Regions from separate parts of the Homo sapiens genome. Here regions 1 and 2 are each linked to region 3. The links are contacts of gene promoters, found by promoter capture Hi-C in human tissues and cell types (Jung and others, 2019). All regions are on one chromosome and are shown on one strand. Each heading gives the region's core, a stretch centred on a gene start or on the middle of the fragment in contact. The rest is flanking DNA. Distances are from core to core; before and after follow the strand shown.

Region 1 (4,923 bases), core at 1,264-3,763, 33 kb after region 3:
TGCTTGATTCACTCTTCTAAACCTTACCCTTACAGGCCTGATATTTATTTATTTATTTAGAGACAGGGTCTCGCTCTGTCACCCAGGCTGGAGTGTAGTGGCATGATCTCGGCTCACTGTAACGTCCACTTTCCGGGCTCAAGCGATTTTCCAGCCTAAGCCTCCCAAACAGCTGGGACTACAGTCTCAAGCCAACAATACCTGGCTAATTTTTATATTTTTTGTAGAGACAGGGTTTCCCCACGTTGCCCAGGCTGGTCTTGAACTCCTGGGCTGAAAGCGATCCACCTGCCTCAGCCTCCCAAAGTGCTGGGATTACAGGTGTGAGCCACTACACCTGGCCTAGGCCTGATACATGTAGCAGGGATATCTGGTATTATTCTCTTGCTTGCTGATTATGTATTCTTAAATGGGGAAATTAAACAAAGGAATTGTCTAAATAGAAAACTGCATGGAAGCAGAACCCTACTTGTTTCTGTTTCCTCATTATATGCTCTGCTCAGACTCCTGAAGTGGCCTATAACATGAACTCCCAGAAGGATCAGGCTCCATCCCAGGGAGACCCACCTCTTCTCCTGGGCTGCCTTAGCAGCCTTCTGGAAAAAAAACATACCAGGTGATGTCAGTCCAGAGAACATCTGAACTAGAAGAGACACCCACTGCACAGTGTTTACTCCCAGCACTGAAACAGCCACAAGTACAACCCAGTCTTATGAACTCCATAAAATGGGAGCTCCATGACGGGGGGACCATGGGTGTCCTGCTCATAGATGCTCCACGCAGCCAGCACTCTTACTAATTTTGTTAAATGAGGTATAAATGGTTTTGACCACGCCTTGATGTCTTCCTCCCCTAGTCTCTCGGCGCAGCTCAAAGTTCTCCCTGGTTTAAGAGCTGGCCACTGTGTACTGCCCTTGGCAGCAGGTGGCAGTCCCATCTGGAAGACAGGAAGGAGGGAAAAGTGATACGAGCTTCCACTAGACTGCATGTCGGCTAGTTCTGGAGTCATCACCACAGCTCAGTCTTGTTTATATTTCCACCGCAAAGAGCAAGGTTAAGCTTATTTAATTTACACTTCCTGTCCCTGACTCAGGCAATTTCATACTGAAGTATTAACCAAATTCTGCTCCTTGGTGGAAAATATACTGAAATTTAAGTAATTATGAAATGTACCCTGTATAATTCATTTATGGTCATTATTGGTCCTATAAAGGGATATCTAACAAGTTAAACAATGAGGTTATTTATCTGGAGGAGAGGCACAGAATGCTTAAATCAAGAGAGAAAAAAGCCCACAGAATCACATTATAGCTACTCTATTTTGTTAAAAAATACAAATAAAAAATAAAAATAAAAAAAGGTGGGGGGACAGTCTAATGAGCTAGATTTTAGGAGTACCAAGAGAAGGAAACAGCTGCTTCAACCATCACCTCGTAATCAGGAAAATTATGATTTAAAATCCTTTTGATTCTTTTCAGATATATAATGATTATTCTGAAGCCCTCAAATACAGTCCATTCGGGAAAGCCTCTAGAACTGCCTGTCCACGCCTCATGGCTGCAATGTGCCACTGAGACATACACCCTGACCACAGAAGGCCAGTGGCGTCGCACGACATTTCGGCAAGCTGTCTGAACATACAGAATGCAAAACAGTTGGGATAGAGTTTTTGGTGAGTTAAAGAATTGAGAAGCTGAAAATTCAAATATACAGTACTCAAGAAGAGGCTTAATTCCTTAGGATTCCATTAGTAAGAAAATCTTTAAGTGGACATAGTATTAGGATAGTATTTAGTAAAAAATCAACACAAAGGCACAGAGGAAAAGTCATTATGCCAATTTTTGTGTTTGGAAATTTATTAGAGCACAATTTCCCTATCAGTATATCTTGTAATAACATTACCCTACCAGGAAATTACATACATAATCTCAGAAGCTGCCTAAGCCACAAGACTTTGTATACAAGATCATATGTTAAACAAAGCAATCTATATTAATTAAAAATAACTGCCATGGCACCATATGAGAAATGTTCAAAATTGTCCATGAGACGTACTCTTTGATGCTATGTTTTGCTTGACCAGTGCTTTCAAATCATTAACAATCCTGTACTCCGAATAAACTAAGATGCTATAAACATCAAAAAAAGTAGATTACACAAGTTTTCATACTCCAATTGCTTTTTGCTGCTGTACATGTAGTGAAGAATATATTAGAGAAAGACTCCAACCTGAGCCCAGCTTCCCTCCTCATCTTCCTGGGGTTACGTGGTTAGGAATGCAAAAGAACATAACTATTAGTATTGGTGAGCTCGGTAATGCAGGCAACGCAACTCTGCAGGGAAGATGCAGCTTCACTGAGTGAAAAAGTTCAGACTATCAAAGCATCATGCAAAACTCATGCAAAACCAACAATTTCAACTTCTCATGCAAGGAGCAGACTCTCTCCGTGCCAAGCATATTCATGGAAGGAGAAAGGGCCACACAGTCAGTCACATGGAGGCTCAACTGAGATCTCTCCAAAAGGAGAGCTAGATTAAAGCTATTCTAAAAGACAGAGTCTACCAACTTGAAGTTCCTGGAAAAAATCTAAAATAAAATACAAATTCTACTTACACATTTCAACTAATAACTAAAGGAAATACTTATCTGGAACGACTGAATGGAAAACAACATTTTGTTTTCAACAAAAAGGCAAAGAACCCAGACGGTCTTAAGTGGAAAACGCGCTGGGAGGAGTGCAGGCTGTGGGGCGTGACTAACCGTTTGCGGCGTGGCTGCGAGCGTTTCCATCTCTTCGTGTGTTAACCAGACATTTCCTGTGGTCTAAGGTGACCCCAGTGCACCAACCACATCCAGGGCAAGGGAAGCAGTGACAAAGAGGAGAGGGGCACACGCATAAGCCACAGGCACAGAGAAGGGGCCGAGGAGGCAAAGTTCGCTCTTCTCACTTTTCAGTTCAGATGCCCGTACAGAATAACCATTCCCTGTTAACACTGGGTCGTCAACACCATCAGGAGAAGAGCACACGATGACGAGAGCTTTAGATGCCATGCTTACCCGAGGTATGTGAAATATCAAGAGAAGAAAACACGTTGTGTACTTCTGGAAACTTTGAGTAATTCTCAAGTAACTATTGATTCAATATATTTAAAGCAGATTAACAACAAAGAACCCAGCATGAAACTCTTGCTTTGGCTATTGGAGGGCTTTCTCGCAGATGTTCCGTGACGGCCTGAAAGGCTGAAGGCAGGCCACAGGGCAGAGGGGGTCACTGCTAAGCAGTGTCGATGGCTCTGTGCAGCCATCAGAACCAGACACGAGACAGACAGTGGCCTGTGTGTCTACTTGAGGGAGATTTTTTCCTTGCATTTTGACATGGTGTGAAGAGTCTGCCTTATGTGAGGTGTTCTCCATCATTACTGAAGACAGTGGATAAACATGGGAGAAACCACTCAGCACCTTCATTTTCAGCAAGGCCACTGTCATGTGAAACAACCAGGGAAGAGCTCAGACACTGCTCCTGAGGCAGGCTGTGGGAAAGGAGCTCTTGGAGCAACAGGGGAGGACAAAGCTTATTGTTCATCACCATAATTTGTTCATTAAGAAGAAAAAAATAAATAAAACAAGTAAAACCCCTCAAAACTTTTTTTGTAAGGTAACTGGGAGCCCTAAATCCAGCGCTGACGTGCTCCTTGGAGAAATGTGTGAGGCTCTTCATTGCAACAAGAATTTGTTTTCTCCTGAGGAGACTAAAAGCAGAGACTGGGAATCCAGCCAGTGTAAAAAGTCTCAACTTTATAAATCTGGAGTTGGCCTGCCCTTATCTCCCAATAACCATTCTTGTTTTTATTAACATAGTTCTTCTTTTTCAAGTAGGATAACCCTTCTTAAGGACTTTGAGGGACTTCCCACATGGAGAGAAACTGTATAAGTACAGCTCATGTTGGATGAACATTTGCAGATTTGTGAACTGCTTGAAATCCTGAGCTCCCAGGGTCTTTAGCTCCCCAAATGGAAAACACCTACAGGCCAAATAAATCAAATACAGTAAAACACTGGTTACAAGGCAACCAGTGATCTCATCTTTATTTTCCCCTTTAGTTTTTATTTTAAAAAATGTCCGCAAACTGGAATGATGGGGAAGGGAGGATTAGAATTCTTTAGGGACCTTTTCCAAGCATGGCTGTGCATGCCTGTAGTCACAGCTACTTGGGAGTCTGAGGCAGGAGGATCGCTTGAGCCCAGGAGTTCCAGACCAGCCTAGGCAACAAAGTGAGACCCATCTCTACAAAAAATACAAAAATTCCTTAGGGATCAGTTTTGACGGTGGGATAACAAGTATCTCTTACTAGTATGTCACCTATATTTCAATGGATGCTTCTGGCTGGGCATGGTGGCTCACACCTGTAATTTCAGCACTCAGGGACTCTGAGGCAGGAGGACTACTGGAGGCCAGGAGTTCCAGACCAGCCTGGTCAACACAGCAAGACCCTGTCTCTAAGAAGTTTTTAGAAATTAGCTGGGTGTGGTGGTGCACACCTGTAGTCCCAACTACTTGGGAGGCTGAGGTGGGAGGATCGCTTGAGCCCAAGAGGTTGAGGCTGCAGTGAGCTACGATTGAGCCACTGCACTCCAGCCTGGGTGACAGAGTAAGACCTTGCCTCCAAAAAATAAAAAACTTAAATAAATAAATAAATGGGTGCTTCTAAGAAGCCTGGAAGAGCCAGTCCTCTGAACTAGACAGAAAAATTTTACTCAAGATGCTACTTACACATGGAATGATACGGATGAATTCACAGACATAACATTAAGTGAAAGAAGCCAGACACAAGAGAGTGAATACTACATGATCTTGTTTATACACATGAAGAACGAAACTAACAGAGCAGTCTATGGCACCAGGAGCCAGGCACTCATCCCTA
Region 2 (4,912 bases), core at 879-3,378, 50 kb after region 3:
ACTTAGATAAAATTCTATTTCATGTGTTTTATTAAAATATGGCATTCTATATAATAAAAGGCCCTAACAATCATCTATTCTAAGCCAAACCTCTCTATAACTTAGTTTTCTTTAATAAAATCCATGTTATAATTAAAAATATTCCAACGGATGAGGAAGTTACTGCAATACCAATTATAAAACTGAACAAACCTACTTTTAGTTAATCACCTGTTGGACATTAATGTAAAATCCTTACCTAGAATTTGATTTACCACTTTTCAAAAATAAATTTATTGCTTAAAGCAAGGTATCCTGTGAAAATATATAAGAACAAAAGCTAGCATAATATTAGGTAGAATCTTTACATCCATCCTATGATTCACATAAGATATTTTAATTTAAAAATAACCTATTAGAGATAGTTGATGAGACTCAACAGGCTGATGAGATTTACAGTCTTGAACACAATCATCAGAACCAGAAAGCATACTGTTTGTGTAAACAGCTTCCATTAATTCTACGCTTAGATTAGTTATGTAGGAAACACTTATGAATTACACAAATCCTACATAATTTGAGTAAAAAAACTCTTAAACACCTATGTCTTGCCTGTATCCATACTTACTATATAGTAATACACTAATTTAAATTACCATTGAGAAAAAGATACTTTTAACTGAGAAAAAAACAACCCATTAATAAAGTCATCACAGCACAAACTCACAAACATGATCGAACACACACAGTTGCGTGGTTACCTGAGCATGCTGTGAAGAATCGCTATAGCATGGGGTGGAACTGGGAGGGGAGGTGGATGAGTAAACTACTGACTGATGGGGACCTGAGGTCTGGATTAAAAATGAATCTGGAGATGGCTAAAATAATAAAACAAAAGGATGACAGGAAATCAAAACCAATGACGGAAGCATAGAGACTGTCAGCCAGCATACAGAATTACAAAACCAGAAAAAATATATATACATACACAACTGTTTTTACGAATTCTCTGGACAGAAATAAGCACAAGCCCACAAATAAAACAGTCAAAGAGTTTAAAATGTTACCTAATTAGTAGATGATGTAAATTATAAAAACAGTATTTCAAAACACTGCAAAATAGACTAGTTACCACCTCATATGCCACTAAAATGATTCACCGTCGATTTAATTGCATGCTGGCTAACAACACAACTAAAAACGAAAATAGATGGTAACGGGAAAAAATATGATAGAAGCACAGTTAAAAAGCAAATGGTGTAAATATGAAATATTTCATTGACAACACACTGACAAATTCTAAATATACAAGATAGTTTGGTTTTTTTTTAGATAAAGATGGGGTTCTCACTATGTTGCCCAGGTTGGTCTCTTAACTCCTAGCTCAAGCAATCCTCCCACCTTGGCCTCTCCAAAGTGCTGGGATTACAGGCGTGAAATACCATGCCAGGCCCAAAGGAAAGTTTTAAACATTCCTCAGATCTGCACACTTTGCAAACACCAAACACCAGAAGGTCATTGCATTTCCAGGTGAGAGGTGACCCTAAGCTGTGAAGGGAAGAAGCCCATCTGCTTCCTTAGGGAGCCACGAAGCAGCTGGCTTGTTCACGGCTTCAAATGCAGAACCCATTTCATGTTTTTCCTTTTTTTTTTTTTTTTTTTTTTGGTAGTAGATGCCCAGGAAGCTGGTTGGGCACTCCGAAAGGAAAGAAATGCACTGACCCACTTTGTGCATTTTCCCATATGCTCTGATGTCTGCCTTTATTTACTTTTGCTAAGTGGTTTTTCCTATAAAACAGAAAATATTTCCCCTTCTGGCTGCTGTACTTTGCACAGATGTCATGCCTAATGTCACACAAACAAATGGTGTAATGCTAGCCTGGTCATCCAAATATTAAAATTTTTTTTTATATTTTTTGGGATTTGTTTTGAGACAGGGTCTCACTCTGCTGCCCAGGCTGGAGGGCAGTGATGCAATCATGGCTCACTGTAGCCTCGACCTCCTGGGCTCAGGTGATCCTCCCACCTCAACCTCCAGAGTAGCTGGGACTACAGGCACACACCACCAGGCCCAGCTACTTTTTGTAAAGATGGGGTTTTGCCATGTTGCCCAGCTGGTTTTGACCTCCTGGGCTCAAGTGATCTGCCCACCTCAGTCTCCCAAAGTGTGAGGAATCACAGGCATGAGCCACCACGCCCGGCCCCAGATATTAAAATTAGTTTGTCATAACTGAATGATTAAATAGTAACTAGTTTTTATAATCTTGAACCTCTTAGAATAACGAATGTACTTGATTTTCTTGTGGGTAGATTTGTAGTGTCCAAGATTTCATACAGGTATGCTGAGGGCAGCCACAGCAGGGAAAGGGCGGATACGTACAAGGGTCATGACGCCCAGTCTGTCCACTTCCCGAGCTGGGCTGTGAGGGATCCTTCGTGGGGTGGAGCGCCCACTGCCCGGAGGGGAGGAGCTAGCAAGCGAGGAAGCAGGGTAGGGGGGAATGGAGCTCATTGATCTAAAACGACCAAGATTGTCTAGACTTCCACTGCCAACTCGACTTTCAATCTCCTCTGCCCGCTGCTCTGTATTTTCTTTTTCTTCCTGAATCAACCTAAAATAAAACAAAAGCAGTCAGTCCTCCTGTTTCGGCAAACAGATTAATGTGTTTGCATGAGAAAAACCATGCTTATACTCTGTATTACTATGAGTAAACTCCAGTAATAAGCTGCTCAAACAATGAACACTTCAGCAAAAATGTTCTACTCTTTTTAAATTTTTATTTATTTATTTTTCTTTTGAGATGGAGTCTCGCTCTGTTGCCCAGGCTAGAGTGCAGTGGCGCGATCTCGGCTCACTGCAACCTCTGCCTCCTGGGTTCAAATAATTCTCCTGCCTCAGCCTCCTGAGTAGCTGGGATTACAGGCGCGTGCCACCATGCCCGGCTAATTTTTCGTATTTTTAGTAGACACGGGGTTTCACCATGTTGGCCAGGCTGGTCTCGAACTTCCAACCTCGTGATCCGCCTGCCTCGGCCTCCCAAAGTAGTGGGATTACAGGCGCGAGCCACAGCTCCTGGCCAAATTTTTTATTTTTTCAGACAGGGTCTCACACTGTCATCCCGGCTGGAGTGCAGTAGCATGATCACAGCTCACTGCAGCCTCGAACTCCTGGACTCAAGGGATCCTCCTGCCTCAGCCTCCCAAGTAGCTGGGGCAACAGGTATGCACTACCACGCCTGGCTCATCTTTTAAAATTTTTTTTGTAGAGACAAGGTCTTCCTATGTTGCCAAGGCTGGTCTCAAACTCCTGACTTCAAGACATCCTCCAACCTCAGCCTCCTCCCAAAGTGGTGGGATTACTGGCATGAGCCACCACACTGGCCTCAATCTTTTTTAATATACTACATCTTACAACAACAAAAAGTAAACCTTCCATTGAGTCTTGTTGGTTCTGGATATCATTAACATTTGATTTTACTTATTTACACAAAAATTCTGGAGAAGGCTGGATGGCAATTTTTCCTATGGTTGCAATTAATAATTTCCTTACTAAGTGATATTTTAAAATTTTATGACCCTTATCTCCCCTATTCTTAGAGCAAAGCTGAAGAAATCTACAGATTTCTTCAACTGGAAATCAGGAACTCTAATATAAAGAACAGATGCACAAAACAATTAGGAGTTTCCCAACACTTAACTGTTTAGACTAAACGAAAATATTGAGTTGGTTCTTTTTTTTAGTTTAAATTTGAACCAGAGCGTTATCTGATGGGATTCTCTACCATCCTCATGTAAATTTCTGGATTCATGCCAACCATGCTACATTAATTTGGAATTCAAGATTAACGCTCCTCTCTCCTAGAGTGTCATGGATCACTAGACAGCAGTTTTAATATTTGACTGTGCCAATAATAATTATTCTAGTATTAAAATATAGAAACCTTGCAATAACCCTTCCAATTAAAGTTCTACTTACATTTCTAAGAAAAGTGCTTTTTGATCATTATTAATAGAAGAAAATCCACAAGTCAGTGGACAGAACACTTACATCAGGTCAACTTTCTGCATAAAGAGGAAACACTTTTATCTAGCTATACATCATAAGAAATAAAAACAAAAGGTATATAATCCTTTCCCAGCTCCCATAATGATGAGGAAAGACGATCTTTCTGAACGCTTCATCACACTAATTATTTTGCACCTCCTCCTTCAAAGGGCCCCCATGCCTGGCAACAGATGCTGCAGAGGTCTCTTCGCCAGTTTTCAAGGTGGCACATGAAATGGGAGTTATAAAGTCAAAAACACAGGCAGCACACCAACTTCTTACTTCAGAATGTACAGCCCTATTTTTTTCTTTTTAATAAAAAAAAAAAGCTGGAGTAACACAGCTCTTGTTGATGTTTCTCTCAACCTTCTCTTCTTTACCTCCTGTTCTCTCTGACCAGGACTGGCACCTCCACCCACGTAAACTTCACAAGCAAGTCGTGGCAGCACCCCACCCAGACCTGCTGCAGGACTCCACACACACACCTGCTCCTCCCTTGGATTCAGGCTAGCCAAGCAGCACGTCAGGCCAGGGCCCGAGGGTAGATCCCAGGCACCCCCTGGTCACACTGCTGTGTCCCTAGGCCAAGCCAGCGTGGGCAGGGTTTACCGGTCTCTTCATAAATATAAAAGCAATTCTTGGATTCCATTCTACAGTTGGCCCGTTTTGTAAGTTCTGCATTATAACTGCTAAAGTTGCTAAAGAAAAACCCTTTAAAATACTGACGAGACAAGAAAGATTCAAACCTGCAATCTGAGCACTCACTGTCCATGTTAACTTCACACAGGGAAAGGAACACTGGAGTGGAGCCGTGCACTCCTGAAGAGCTCCAGTGTTCTGTACCAGGCCACTGTGTGACGGGACCTGAACATGTGAGGCTCTGATGTA
Region 3 (4,896 bases), core at 1,799-4,298:
TCCTGGGTTCAAGCGATTCTCCTGCCTCACCCTCCTGAGTAGCTGGGACTACAGGCACCTGTCACTACACCCAGCTAATTTTTCTTTTTCTTTTTTCTTTTGAGATGGAGTCTCAGTCTTTTGCCCAGGCTGGAGTGCAATAGTGTGATCTCGGCTCACTGCAACCTCCACTTCGCAGGTTCAAGCGATTCTGGTGCCTCAGCCTCCTGAGTGGCTGGGACTACAGGCATATACCACCACGCCCGGCTAATTTTTTGTATTTTTTTTTTTAGTAGAGACGGTGTTTCACTGTGTTAGCCAGGATGGTGTCAATCTCCTGACCTCGTGATCTGCCCACCTCAGCCTCCCAAAGTGCTGGGATTACAGGTGTGAGCCACCATACCCGGCCAATTTTTCTATTTTTAACAGAGATGGGGTTTCCCCATGTTGCCTAGGCTGATCTCGAAACTCCTGGGCTCAAGCAATCCACCTGCCCTTAGCCTCCCAAAGTGCTGAGATTACAGGTGTGAGCCACCGAGCCTGGCAGAAGAATGTTTTAAATGACAGGACAGAACCATCCGTCCACCATCAGCTTTCCATTAGCCTCAGCATCTATGGCAGAGCAGGAGGAGAAAGGAAACAGACACTTGCGTAGCCAAAATCACCATCACAGGCACACTCCCTACACCACACTTACTCAAGGGAAACCCCGCCCCCAACATTTACTCCGTTTACTCAAAGCAGTGCGTGAGCAGATGGGGTGGGCCTGGGCCACAGTGAAAGCCAAGCCTGCTCCTGGAGCACAGTCCCCTGCTCTTGGCTGGCCCAGGCCATGGGAATACTGCAACACAAGGCAGCAACCAGCGCTCACAGCAATTCACACTCTCAGGACACCTTTTCTGAGCACCTACTGCGTGGCACAGACTGAAGATCTGAATTGCCGATTATGTGTGCTGTCATTTTAAAAGTGTTTTAAAAACAAGTCCATCAAAATGCTACAATTAAAAGTCAGCTTTAGCTGGGCCTGCAGTCCCAGCTACTTGGGAGGCTGAGGTGGGAGGATCGCTTAAGGCCAGCAGTTCAAGGTTGCAGTGTGCTAGATGGCACCTGTGAAGAGCCTCTGCACTCCAGCCTGGGTGACAGGGTCTCGCTCTGTCACCCAGGCTGGAGTACAGTGGTGCGATCGAGCTCAATGCAGCCTCCAACTCCTGGGCTTGAGATCCTCTGCCTCAGCGCCCCAAGTAGCTAGGACAACAGGTGCAAGCCAACATGCCCAGCGAATTTCTTTTTTTGTAGACACAAGGTCTCCCTGTGTTGCCCAGGCTAGTCTGGAACTCCTGGCCTCAAACGATCCTCTCACCTTGACCTCCCAAAGTGCAGGGATTACAGGTGTGAGCCACCGCACCCCTGCCCCAGGTCAAAAGAAATTTCTTTTCAGTAAGATATAGCAGAAGGTTAGCTTCTAGTTCTAGGGGACCTAATATCAAAACAACCCTGCCTCCCCAACTTTTTATTGAGTCCCACTTAAAAGACTCTTCCTTGTTCCTTGAGTATCTGGCGAATACTTCTCTAACCAGAGGAGAAACAGGACTGACTCAGTGCTCTGGAGCCAGTGACTCACCCACACGGTCAAACACGTGAATGGAGACAGGGGCAGGCGGCCAGCCCCTCCTGCGCCACGGCCTTGGGCCCGGCCGGGCTTGAGGGCTGGATCATGCCTGAAGGACCTAGTGGGTGAAGTCCCCCCGACAGAGCCTGCGCAGCCAAGTCAACACTGAGCCCAAAGGGAGCGCATGGGATTCCAGGGAGCGCTCACCGGATGCCTCCGGAGCTTCCTTCAGCAGAAAATGAATTCCTCCCCAAGGGGCCCCAAACGTCCACAGATTCCAGCGGGAGGAAGCCCTGTCCCTTCTCACCCAAGGCCTTCCAGCTTCAGGGATCAGGCATCCCTTAGACTATCCAGGTGATGGAAACGTAACAGAAAGCCCCAAAGCACCGTTCTGGTGATTTTAAACACACCCCGAAGGAGGGACGGTTCCAAATTTAGAGCCTCACGACTAGCTGCAGCCGCGCCTCGCTGCCTCCACTGACCTGATTGCAAAACCTCCGCTCAGGTGCAGGCCGGGCGGATCCCCAGCTGCTCCGCCACGTCCCACAGCGAGCCCCTCAAAGTCGCGCACCCCAACCGCCTTGACCCCGCGGACCCCATCCCTTTTCCCTGCGCCTGGATCCCTTCCCCTGGAGCCCCAATCCCCTCCCCTCGGACCCTATACCTTTCCTCCGAGCCCCGACCCCTTCCCCTCGAACCCCAATTCCCTTCCCTCGGACCCCATCCCAGTAGCTCTGCGCCTGGACCCCTTCCCGTCAGACCCCAATCTCCTCCCCTCGGACCTCATCCCTTTCCCTCTGCACCCAGACACCTCCCTCTCAGACCCCTCGCCCTTTCCTTGAGACCCCCCACACCCACCTTCCTTGGCCCCTCGAACCCCGGCCCCCTCCGCTCAGACCCCCGAACCCCACAGGCCCAGCCCCTCTCCCTCGGGCCCTAATACCCTCCCCCTCGGAGCCCATCCCCCTCTCCTATTCCCTCGGACCCAAGACCCCTCCCAGCCTGGCCCCTCTCCTGCCCTGGAGCCCCCCGGCGCCCAGGGACCCTCCCCTCAGAGCTGATACCCCAATTTGGCCCCTTTCTAACCTTCCTCCGCGGACCCCAGCCCCAAGCCCTCCGTGCCCCCTTGCCCCCTGCCCGGCCTCCTTGGGCCCAGACCCGTCCTCGTGGCCCTCGCGGACCCCCGGCCCTCGCCCTGCCCCGCCCCAGGCCGGGAAAGCCTCGCCACTCTGCCCCGGCCCCCGAAACCGCAAGCGGAAGAGCGGTGAGACCGCTGCGGCCGCCGCTTCCTTCCCCTTTCGCGGCCAGGCGACGCCACAGGAGGGAAGAAGCAGAGCCCGGCCTGCACCCCGGGCGGACGCCGCGCTCGCTCACCGCCGCCTGGGGTCGGTCCGGCCCGGGTCGGCCCTGGATTCCGCCGCGCCAGCCGCTCCCAGGCACCAGGCTCTACTTCCGGTTCCGAGGGCGGGGGCGGGGCCGCATCCGGGTCCCCGCGCGACCCCGCCCCCTGCCCCGCCTCCTCCCGCGTCTTGGCCCGCAAGAGTCCCGGGGGTCCGCCCGCAGCTGGCTAAGCGCTAGCCCGGCCTGTGGCGAGTCTGCAGAGCTCGCCCGGAAGTAGCGTTGCGCGCGCAGAGGATGGGCGCTGAGCAGCACACAGCCCGCGGCGGGGTCTCAGGATCCGCGGCGCTGCCCGGGGCCGGGGGAAGGAAGCCAGCCGAGGAGACGCACGTGCCCTGAGTCCGGGAGCGGGGAGCCTCTTCATCTCTCCATCCTCCCTCCGCGCGCGCCCTCAGCCGTCCTCGTCCGCTCACCATGCACCTCCCCTCCAAGAAAGGGCCACATGCGTGCCAGGGACGCGAGCCCCGGCCACAGGGACATAGCAGCCTAGAAGGTGAGTCAAGCGTTAAACCACATGGGTACTCACCTGGGAAATGAGATAAATGCCAAGAAGTGAGAGTTTCATAACATCGTATTGGGGAGACGGTAGGACCTGAACCCCTGGGAGACCAGAGGTTTCTTTGGGCGATTCACATGTTAGCCAAGATGTGAAGGCCCTATAAGAGTAAACAAGGTAAGGAGGGAAGAATTTTCCAGGCAGGCCAACAGCAGGTTCCAACAGCAGGGCCAACAGAGGTCCCAAGGCAGGAACGGTCTTGCAGCAGGGGAACTGGAGGAGGCTCAGCTCAGCATGGTAGAGGGCTAGTGGTGCAGCGGAGCTGTGGTGTGAGAGGGGCCAGGTCATGCAGAGGCCGATAGAGCACAGCGAAGACCTCGGTCTTTATTCTGGGAGACACGGGAAGTCCTCGGAGGAAGTTAAGCTGATAAGAGACATCATGAAGTTTGGGCCAGGCGCAGTGGCCCACGCCTGTAATCATAACACTTTGGGAGGCTGACATGGGAGGATCGCCTAAGGCCAGGAGTTCGAGACCAGCCTGGTCAGCATAGTGAGACCCTCGCCCCCGCCCGCCATCGCTAAATAAATAAATAAGACATAATGAAGTTTGAATTGTAATGAGATCACTCTGGCTGCTGTGTGGAAGATGGATGGGAGAAGGGCCAGGTAGAGCCTAATGTAGCCAATTCGGGCAGACCGCTGGTGGCAGGTAAGATGGGGAGAAGTGGATAGATGCAAGAGGCATTTAGAAAGCTAAACTGTCAGATGTGAGGATGAATTGGAAGTGCGGGTGGCGGAAGGAAATGTCAGGTGTTGACCATTTTTTTAAAGGTAAAATCATGACCTTCATACACATATAAAATGAACACGTCAAATATTTTATTTAACTCGATAATGAATACATCATAAGTTGTTACAAATTGTTTAAAGAATTTGGCCAGATGCAGTGCCTCGCGCCTGTAATCCCAACACTTTGGGAGGCCAAGGCAGGAGGATTGCTGGAGGTCAGGAATTTGAGACCAGCCTGGGCAGCATGGCAAGACCCTGTCTCTACCAAAAAAAAAAAATTTTTTTTAAGAAAAAAATTAGCCAGGCATGGTGACGTTTACCTGTGGTCCCAGCTATTCTGGAGGCTGAGGCAAAAGGACCGCTCCGGCACGGGCAACAGAAACCCTGTGTCAAAAAAAAAAAAAACGGAAGACGAATGCTGAAATGAATTTGCAAAAACTGCTCTATCTCTAGTGCAAAGGTCAATTGCATTTAACTGGACACAGCTAATTTGCATTTTCTGTGCACAAGGATTGTTGGCCAGGCTTGTAATACCAGCACTTTGAGCGGCAAGGCCAGAGGATTGCTTGAGCCCAGGAGTTCAAGACCAGCCTGGGCAATATAGACCCCATCTCTGAAAAAAAAA

Evidence for each region. Contacts are between HindIII fragments. The study calls those that stand out against the background at their distance.
Region 1: a contact is called between a fragment that was not itself captured here and the fragment with the promoter of CTTN in region 3, in 7 of the 25 tissues and cell types used here (IMR-90 fibroblasts, lymphoblastoid cells, mesendoderm cells and 4 more).
Region 2: a contact is called between a fragment that was not itself captured here and the fragment with the promoter of CTTN in region 3, in 1 of the 25 tissues and cell types used here (mesenchymal stem cells).

Annotation. Positions count from the first base shown.
Region 1 is chr11:70,363,274-70,368,196 of GRCh38, reverse strand. The region is part of intron 21 of PPFIA1 (PPFI scaffold protein A1); the gene reads right to left. It overlaps CTTN-DT (CTTN divergent transcript), which reads left to right. Exons shown (of 3, transcript NR_186321.1): 3 at 1,479-4,923. Among named protein-coding and RNA genes, the nearest start is that of CTTN-DT, 33 kb to the left of the region's middle. The HindIII fragment of the contact is 5,452 bases long and covers 1-4,923 here.
Region 2 is chr11:70,345,868-70,350,779 of GRCh38, reverse strand. It overlaps PPFIA1 (PPFI scaffold protein A1), which reads right to left. Exons shown (of 28, transcript NM_003626.5): 16 at 2,360-2,591. Among named protein-coding and RNA genes, the nearest start is that of CTTN-DT, 50 kb to the left of the region's middle. The HindIII fragment of the contact is 7,431 bases long and covers 1-4,912 here.
Region 3 is chr11:70,396,681-70,401,576 of GRCh38, reverse strand. CTTN (cortactin) reads right to left here and starts at 3,048. Exons shown (of 18, transcript NM_005231.4): 1 at 2,963-3,048. CTTN-DT (CTTN divergent transcript) reads left to right here and starts at 3,115. Exons shown (of 3, transcript NR_186321.1): 1 at 3,115-3,479. RefSeq lists enhancers at 540-834, 3,683-3,752 and silencers at 2,122-2,191, 2,773-3,282, 3,383-3,432, 4,530-4,718. The HindIII fragment of the contact is 28,316 bases long and covers 1-4,896 here.